Linked DNA regions of Homo sapiens: region 1 is linked to region 2. The links are contacts of gene promoters, found by promoter capture Hi-C in blood cells and fetal thymus (Javierre and others, 2016). All regions are on one chromosome and are shown on one strand. The core of a region is centred on a gene start or on the middle of the fragment in contact, and the rest is flanking DNA. Distances in the headings are between cores, read along the strand shown. Region 1 has its middle 2.9 kb from the start of ZMPSTE24. Region 2 holds the start of ZNF684 (zinc finger protein 684).

Region 1 (4,119 bases), core at 913-3,412, 280 kb before region 2:
TTGTAATTTCTGCCTGATCCACTGGAGTTAAAATGCCACCCCTGGATGAGACTTCACTGTATCGTGTACTAAATGCAAAAACAGGTGGGTGAATACAGGGTGGGGCCAGGAAAGGCTTTGCAAAGGAAGTGACATCGAGGTGTCCCATAAATGATTACATAGGCAGACAAAGAAATGGAAGATAATATTCCTGAGCGGGATCATCATGGAAGTATATTTTTATTTTTATTACTTTTTGAGACAGAGTTTCGCTCTTGTTGCCCAGGCTGGAGTGCAGTGGCGCGATCTCAGCTCACCGCAACCTCTGCCTCCCAGGTTCAAGCGATTGTGCTGCCTCAGCCTCCCGAGTAGGTGGGATTATAGGCGCCCGCCACCATGCCTGGCTAACTTTTTGTATTTTTAGTAGAGATGGGGTTTCACCATGTTGGCCCGGCTGGTCTGGAACTCCGGACCTCAGGTGATCCACCCGCCTTGGGCTGCCGGAGTGCTGGGATTACAGGCATGAGCCACTGCGCCCGGCCCAGAAGGATATATATATATGTATATTTTTTGAGACGGAGTCTCGCTCTGTTACCCAGGCTGGAGTGCAGTGGCGCAATCTTGTCTCGCTGCAACTTCAGCCTCCCGGGTTCATGCCATTCTCCTGCCTCAGCCTCCCAAGTAGCTGGGACTACAGGCACCCGCCACCACGCCTGGCTAATTTTTTGTATTTTTAGTAGAGACAGGGTTTCACCGTGTTAGCCAGGATGGTCTCGATCTCCTGACCTCATGATCCACCCGCCTCGGCCTCCCAAAGTGCTGGAATTACAGCCGTGAGCCACCGCGCCCGGCCAAAAAAGAAGAGTTTTGAAGAGTAGACTGATGTCAGGTAATGAAGGACCTCGAAGGTCATACCATATATACCATATATAGGTTGGGCTTTATACTATCATAAATGGACCATTACAGGGTTTTTGTTTTTGTTCTTTTTTAACAGGGAGTAACACAGAATTAGTAGCCTATATGAGAGACAGAACGTATGAGCTAGAAAGTAGAATGAGCTAGATGCAAAAGAAATAACAGCTGCTCTTGTAAGGGTACCCAGGCTGGAGTGCAGTGGTGTGATCTCCGCTCACTGCAACCTCCGCCTTCCGGGTTCAAGCGATTCTCCTGCCTCAGCCTCCAGATTATACGCGTCCACCACCATGCCTGGTTTTTTGTCTTTTGTTTTTTTTTTTGTATTTTTAGTAGAGATGGGGTTTCGCCATGTTGGCCAGGCTGGTTTCAAACTCCTGGCCTCAAGTGATCCACCCACCTCGGCCTCCCAAAATGCTAGGATTACGGGCGTAAGCCACTGCGCCCAGCCAAGGGGGATCATTCTTTTCTTGAGGCCAGAGCACTTATGGCCAGAGTTTCAATTAAGGGACCTTGAATGCTTGGTAAGCAGAGAATCAAGGCAAGATAGGGAAAAAGCTTGAGAGCAACTCTATGATTTAGGTTAGACAGGGTAGATGGACTACCCTACAGCAATGTCTATCACTCTAGGGATAATAATCTTTATCTTTCAAATTCAGTCATTTTATTTATTTTTATAGAGATGAAGTCTCACTGTGTTGCCTAGGCTGGTCTCGAACTCCTGCACTCAAGCAATTATCCCACCTTGGCCTCCCAAAGAACTGAGATTACAGGTGTGAGCCAGCACACCCTGCCAGTCTTTCTCCTTTAGCAAAATCCTGCCAACAGCCTGTTTTGAGGTTCCCATTTTTAGACTCCACACAGGCCAGCCCTTCTATTAGTACTGTCTTTCTGAAAAGAGAAACAAGTGATTATTCACTTTCCATAATTCACTAGTTCTCCACTGCCACCACATTAGTCTGCACTACCATCTCTCACCTGGATTCTTTTTTCTTTTTTTCTGATATCCTTGGCAACTGCTAAATCACCTGGATTCTTGAAATGGCCTCCTAACTGCACTCCCTCCTTCCATTCCCCATTAAATTTATTCTCCACGTTGTAATGAGAAGGATTGTCTGCTCAAAACTCTGCAATGCTCTGCTCAAAATCCTGCAATGGCTTATTCTTTCATTCTAAGTAAAAGTCTTTTAACTAAAAGACTGCATGATGGCATGGATCTGCACTCCCCCTCTTCCTTACTCTTTCCACAGCCTCTTGCCATTCCTCAGATATGATAAGCATTGGCCAATCTCAGGGCCTTTGCACTTGCTCTTCACTCTGACTGGCAATTTCCTCAGATATCCACACAGCTTGTTCTCTTACTTTTTTTGGGGGACTCAAATGCCAGTTAATCTGAGAAGGCTTCCTTGACCAACTTATGTAAAGCAGCATCCCTCACACCAACATGCTGTATTGCCTTTTTGCTGCTTTTTCTTCATAGCACTTATCACCACTTCCACTTTTACTATTAAATATTTGCTTATTATTTATCAAACACTGCATCCACCCCAGCTAAGAATGTAAGCTCCAGGAGAGGGGCTTTGGTTCACTGCTATATCCCTGGCACCTGGAAATGCGTCTGGCATTTCGCAGACATTCAGTATTTATTGAATGAATGAATTCCAGTCAGTCTTGGCTTTTTGACACCTCGGCCTCCTACTCTCCTATCTCTTCAGACACATGGTGACAGATCAATGCTATGATGCCCCTCTCCCAAGCAGTAGCTAACCTTTATTGGGCACTCAGGGCCATCTACATTGCTAGGAGCTTTACATGAATTTTCTCATTTGATCCTAACAGTATGAGAAAGTAAGTACATACTATGTTATTCTCATTTTACTGATGAGGATCTGATGCACAGATTAAAGAACGTGCTAATACATGGTGCGGCCGTGGCTGGCAATCAAGCAGCTTGACTCTAAACCTGTGCCCTTAGCCACAAAGCTTGGGTGGTAGAAGCTCCTGTGAGGCTTTGGACTCACAGACAGCTGAAGTCAAGAGTGAAGAGGGCATAGCAATGATGGCCTGAGGGAGAGAAAATTTTGAAAAAGTGTTTACCCCTTATATATTTAAGTTGGTATCTAACTGGTTCCATCATAAATTCAAATAGTTGCAATGGATGTAAATTCTTGCAAATTGTAAATACTGACATTTTAAGATAAAACTGTTAAATCACTCTTTATAATGTATCCAAGAGAATCTACATAACAACTGAATAACCACCATTATGCATTAAAACATACACTAATGAGCTCTTCAACATTGTTCTTTTATTATCTCTAACATATTTAGATTGTACTCTAACAAAAAATGTTATTCAAATATAGTACTTTGATGTTTGAACAACCTTTTCTTGATCACTTCTTCGCAATAAAAATATGACATATGTAGTAAACCTTAAAAAATTTCGTGTAACTTTATGGCTCTACGCTGGAATTCTTCTGAAGTGAGTAATCATCACAATCATCTTTAGTATATAATGGATCAAAATGACACGATTGCAAATATTGATAACACACAGTTATAAAAGGTGAAATTCTATTGGGAACACATCTCTTAGTGAGATAGATGGGGCTGACCCACCAATTAATTCATTTATCTGGATGAATAGTTCCTACTGGTAGATTAACAGGGTTCATTTTCAATTCTGTTGTTTTCACAGATACAAGTGCTGAGAAATGGTTTTACATAAATAGGTGAGAATGCTAGTAGTTTTGTTGTAAGCATGTCAATCAATCGTTTGGTTTCTTTCCGAGTTGCATGCCAAAAACCAAATAGTGTTCCTTCATCAGCTGACAATTCATGGGCCACCATTAATTTTGTTGAAAGCAAAGAACTGGAAACCATCTGACTTGAAAAGAATTTGTTATCCTGTTATTAGAGTCATTCACTTTCTCTAGTGACTTTTAATTATACTAATTACTCTCAGAGGCATTTAGGCAGGGTTGAGAAATTCAAGATATTAATTTCAACACATCTTTAGCATCACAATATCACAGTAATTTAAATATATTTTAGTTGTAGCTATTTAGCTCACTTTATTGTAAATAATAATTATGCTAATTAGCAACGATAGTATGTTTAACCAATTAATCATCAGATTAACTTTCGGTCAGAATAATGGACTTCAATTTTTAAGTCAAAGCAATGTACAGGCGTCCCAGTCACCATATTTCACTTCTGAAT
Region 2 (3,986 bases), core at 1,479-3,978:
CTCTAAAGTTGTGGTATGATCATAGCTGACTGCAGCCTCAAACTCTTGGCCTCAAGCAATCCTCCCTCTTCTTCAGCCTCCCAAAGTGATGTGGTTACAGGCATGAGCCACTGTGCCCAACGTTTGTACTTAATTTTTTAAAAACTCTAAAAGAAATTGCAATTATGAGAAAATTGATAATTTGAACAATGACTCAATGTTTGATGATGTTAAGGAAATATTGTTAATATTTTAGATGTGATAATAATATGGTTTTTTAAGTCTTTATTTTTATTGGTGAAATTATATGCTCTGGGATTTGCTTCAAAATACTATGCAATGGGGTTGGGGGTAGAGATGAAACAGAATTGGCCCTGAGTTGATAATTATTGGAGTTGGGGGATGGATACATGGAAGTTCACCACTATTCTTTCTACTATTGCATAGTTTAAAATTACCATAATGAAATGTTTTGTAAAATTAAATGCCTAATTTTTGGGTTGCACAAAATACATACTGTTTCTAATAAAAATACATAAGTAATTTGGTCCAAAATACTTTAGATATTAAGATGTAATGAATTTATTCTACTACCCATGTCTTTAATATATGTCCTTTCTGTTGAGAGAGAGGAGAGGAGAGGGGAGGGGAGGGGACGGGAGGGGAGGCAGAGAGAGAGAGATGTGTTTATTGCATAGAAAATGCTAGTAAAGTCAGTGGGTACTAATATCACTTGATCTTAGCCAAAAGGCTGAGAAGCGATAATGGCTACTAATATCAAGCCAGTTCTTAATGGTGCCAGGCAATAGTACTACATTTCCTTAATCTATTCACTTGCTCACATTCATAAATCATACTTTATCGAATCTCAGATGCCATTGATTATAAGTTGTATTATTATTTTATATACTAATAAAAAACAATGCTCCTGATTAAACTATGGAATGCCATCACTTGTAAGACAGCAATTTCACAGATGTTAAAATATGAAAAAATCATGTTTCAAAATCATCATAATACGGTATTCATCTTTTCTGTCAAGTCTAAAATACTTTCCCCCTATCTTCATTTCAGCTTCCTATTTCACTGGGAAAATAGAAGCACTCAGAACAGGGCATCCTCTTTCTCCTACCACCATATTTGTCCACCTGTTTGGATCTGTACTTATAAACTCTGCCTCCCCTTTTATTTCAATGGAGATGAATTATCCATACTCTTACTTAGAATGATCCCTGTGATTGTGTACTGGATTCCATCCCTTCTCTTCTCAAGGACATTCCTCCGAGTAACTAGCCTGTCTATCCTGAATTGTGTATTTCCCGCCTCTACTGGATCTTTTGTTTTATTTTATTAACTAATTCATTTATTTGAGACAGAGCCTCGCTCTGTCGCCCAGGCTGGAGTGCAGTGGTGTGATCTCGGCTCACTGCAACCTCTGCCTCCCGGGTTCAAGTGATTCTCCCGCCTCAGCCTCCCAGGTAGCTGGGTTTACAGGCGTCTGCCACCACGCCCGGCTAATTTTTGTATTTTTAGTAGAGACGGGGTTTCACCACGTTGGCCAGGCTGGTCTCCAACTCCTGACCTCAGGTGATCTGCCCACCTAAGCTTCCCAAAGTGCTGGGATTACAGGCGTGAGCCACTGCGCCCAGCCTAGATCCTTTTAATTAGTACATAAACTTACTATAATTTCTTCCATCTTTTTTATTTTATTTTTTTGAGACAGAGACTAGCTCTGTCGCCCATGCTGCAGTGCAGTGGCGGGATCACGGCTCACTGCAGTCTCTACTGTCTGGGCTCAAGCGATCCTCCCATCTCAGCCTCTCAAGTAGTTGGGACTTCAGGCGGGTGCCATGCCAGGCTAGTTTTTTATTTTTTGTAGAGATGAGGGTCTCACTATGTTGCCTAGGCAGTTTCAGACTCCTGGGCTCAACCAATCCTCCCACTTTGGCCTCCTGAAATGTTAGGATTACAGGCATAAGCCACCACACTCAGCCCCATCTTTGAATTAAAAAAAAAAAAAAAATTAGAACGTGGAAAAACGCAACAACAAAAGATTAACAAAATCCCTATCCCATGATAGCCTTATTTTTCTGCTCACCTTAAAAACAAAACTTCTTAAAAGTATTGCGTATATTTGCTTTCTCCATTTCCTCTCCTCCCATCCTTCCCTCCAACTCCTATCAAATTTTCATCAGACTTTATCAAACTTCCACCACTGCCAAAATGGCGTTTCAACATCACTGGTGACCATTGCTACAGTGGCCCATTCTTAATTCTCATTTTACTTGACCTATGAGCAACATTTGAGACAATGGGTCACTCCCTTCTTGAAACACTTCCTTCCCTTGGTTTTGCAGATCTAAACTCTCCTACTTTTCCATCTACTTCATGGATTATTCCTTCTCAGTCTTCTTTGTTGGATCCTCTTCACCTCTCCGACTTAACCTGGTGCATTGCTAGAAGAAACCCTGCTGAGTAAGAGCAAATTGTTTTTAGCATACCGCCGATTTTACTTTCCAGTATTTAAAAATGCTGTGTATCCTTTTAAATGAAAACGACTTAAAAAGCGTGGCTCTCAGGCTAGCAATAGAGATACCAACCCGGGAATCTCCGCACCACCCCCCAAGAGGAAGCAGCGTCTGACGTCTTCCGGAAACGAGCTCCACTGGCCTTATGGGAAATGTGGTCTCCGACGGATGGCCTACACCCGGGAGGAGTCCAGGAACTCTAGGTGGACAGTTACTTCCGCACACGCGTAGTAGGACGGTAGCCGGTATTCAATCTTCAAATCAGCGCCGCGGGAAGTGCGGGCGGGTGTTGCTCCCCTGTCTCTGGACGACGCTGTGACTGATCCCAGGCTTGGAGCCGGAGCTGCGAGCGAGGCAGTGAAAGGGTGGCAGGTATGGCTTTGCTGGACTCGGAGGACGTAAGAGAAAGGCGGGGACTGGCTTCTAGGTTTACCCTACCGAAGATAAAACTTTAGTCTCCAAGCGCAGTGACTTCAGGTTTGGATATGTGGGTCCTGTTCAACTCGAGTAGCTGAGAGAAAGCAAGAGTTGGGCTCCGACTGGCACTGGGTAGATGTCCAGGGCTCTGGTGGGACTGGGAGAGGCTCAATTTGCATTCCTGCTCTTGTAGGTCAAGGTCACTATGTAGGAGTCTGTTCATCTAACTGTACCTTTCCTGGTTCCAAGAGCATAGTTGGCCCGACTGGAGCCTGCGACAATTTTAAGCCGTGTCAAGGGATCCAGTGGAAACTGTAAGCTATTTCAAGGGATCCAGGAAGAAAGCATTCTTGAGAAACTGCTATGGATTAGAAGGGTATTCTCAGCAATCATTTGAAGTAAATGCTATTACCATTTTGCATATGAGTTAACTGAAGCTGAAAGGTGAAATTACTTGCCTGGACTCACACAGCTTAGTAAGTGGAAGAACTGAGATTCAAACTCAGATACATTTTCTCCAAATTTCTTTTTTTTTTTTTTTACAGTATAGCATTCCTGCATAAAACAGAGTTGGGTTTATTCTCCTGAAATGTTTGAGCAATGAATGCTGAGTAAATTTCGATTTGTAGTCATTTTGTAGAGTCTCTTGGTGTATCTGCAGATCTTCCAGTGCAGACTGTGTAAATGAAGATGTGAGTCCCCGGTTTGCCCATTATACCCTTTCTAGAGCCCCAGCAGTTCTAAGCTCATAGGAGATGGCGAGTTTCTACAGAGAGAAACATTTGGAGTTTAAACTGAAGGATCCAGCTTAACAAAAAAAAAATAAAAAAAAGTGTTCCTGGGTCCCTGAATCCAGCCTTCTCAAGAAAGCCCAACCTAATTTGCAATCTCTTATCCCAGCGTCAGAGTAGAAACCAGAGAATCACAGGAAGGAATCATTTTTAGACTTACGGAGCTTCAGAGACCAAGCTTTTAAGTGAGTCAACTCATTCATTATTTCTTCAGGATAAATTTCTGGGAGGAAAAAAAATAACTGTTTCAAGAGGAACCACTTGGTGCTAG

The links. The method cuts DNA at HindIII sites, captures the fragments that hold promoters and counts their contacts. A CHiCAGO score of 5 or more calls a contact.
Region 1: a contact is called between a fragment that was not itself captured here and the fragment with the promoter of ZNF684 in region 2, in 1 of 17 cell types (non-activated CD4 T cells). The highest score is 5.3, in non-activated CD4 T cells.

What each region holds. Positions count from the first base shown.
Region 1 is chr1:40,253,241-40,257,359 of GRCh38, forward strand. No RefSeq gene overlaps it. Among named protein-coding and RNA genes, the nearest start is that of ZMPSTE24, 2.9 kb to the right of the region's middle. The HindIII fragment of the contact is 1,425 bases long and covers 1,451-2,875 here.
Region 2 is chr1:40,528,909-40,532,894 of GRCh38, forward strand. It overlaps ZNF684 (zinc finger protein 684), which reads left to right and starts at 2,729. Exons shown (of 5, transcript NM_152373.4): 1 at 2,729-2,879. LOC124904149 (a long non-coding RNA gene) reads right to left here and starts at 2,638. Exons shown (of 2, transcript XR_007066022.1): 1 at 2,580-2,638; 2 at 1,670-2,447. RefSeq lists an enhancer at 2,529-2,823. The HindIII fragment of the contact is 2,309 bases long and covers 1,583-3,891 here.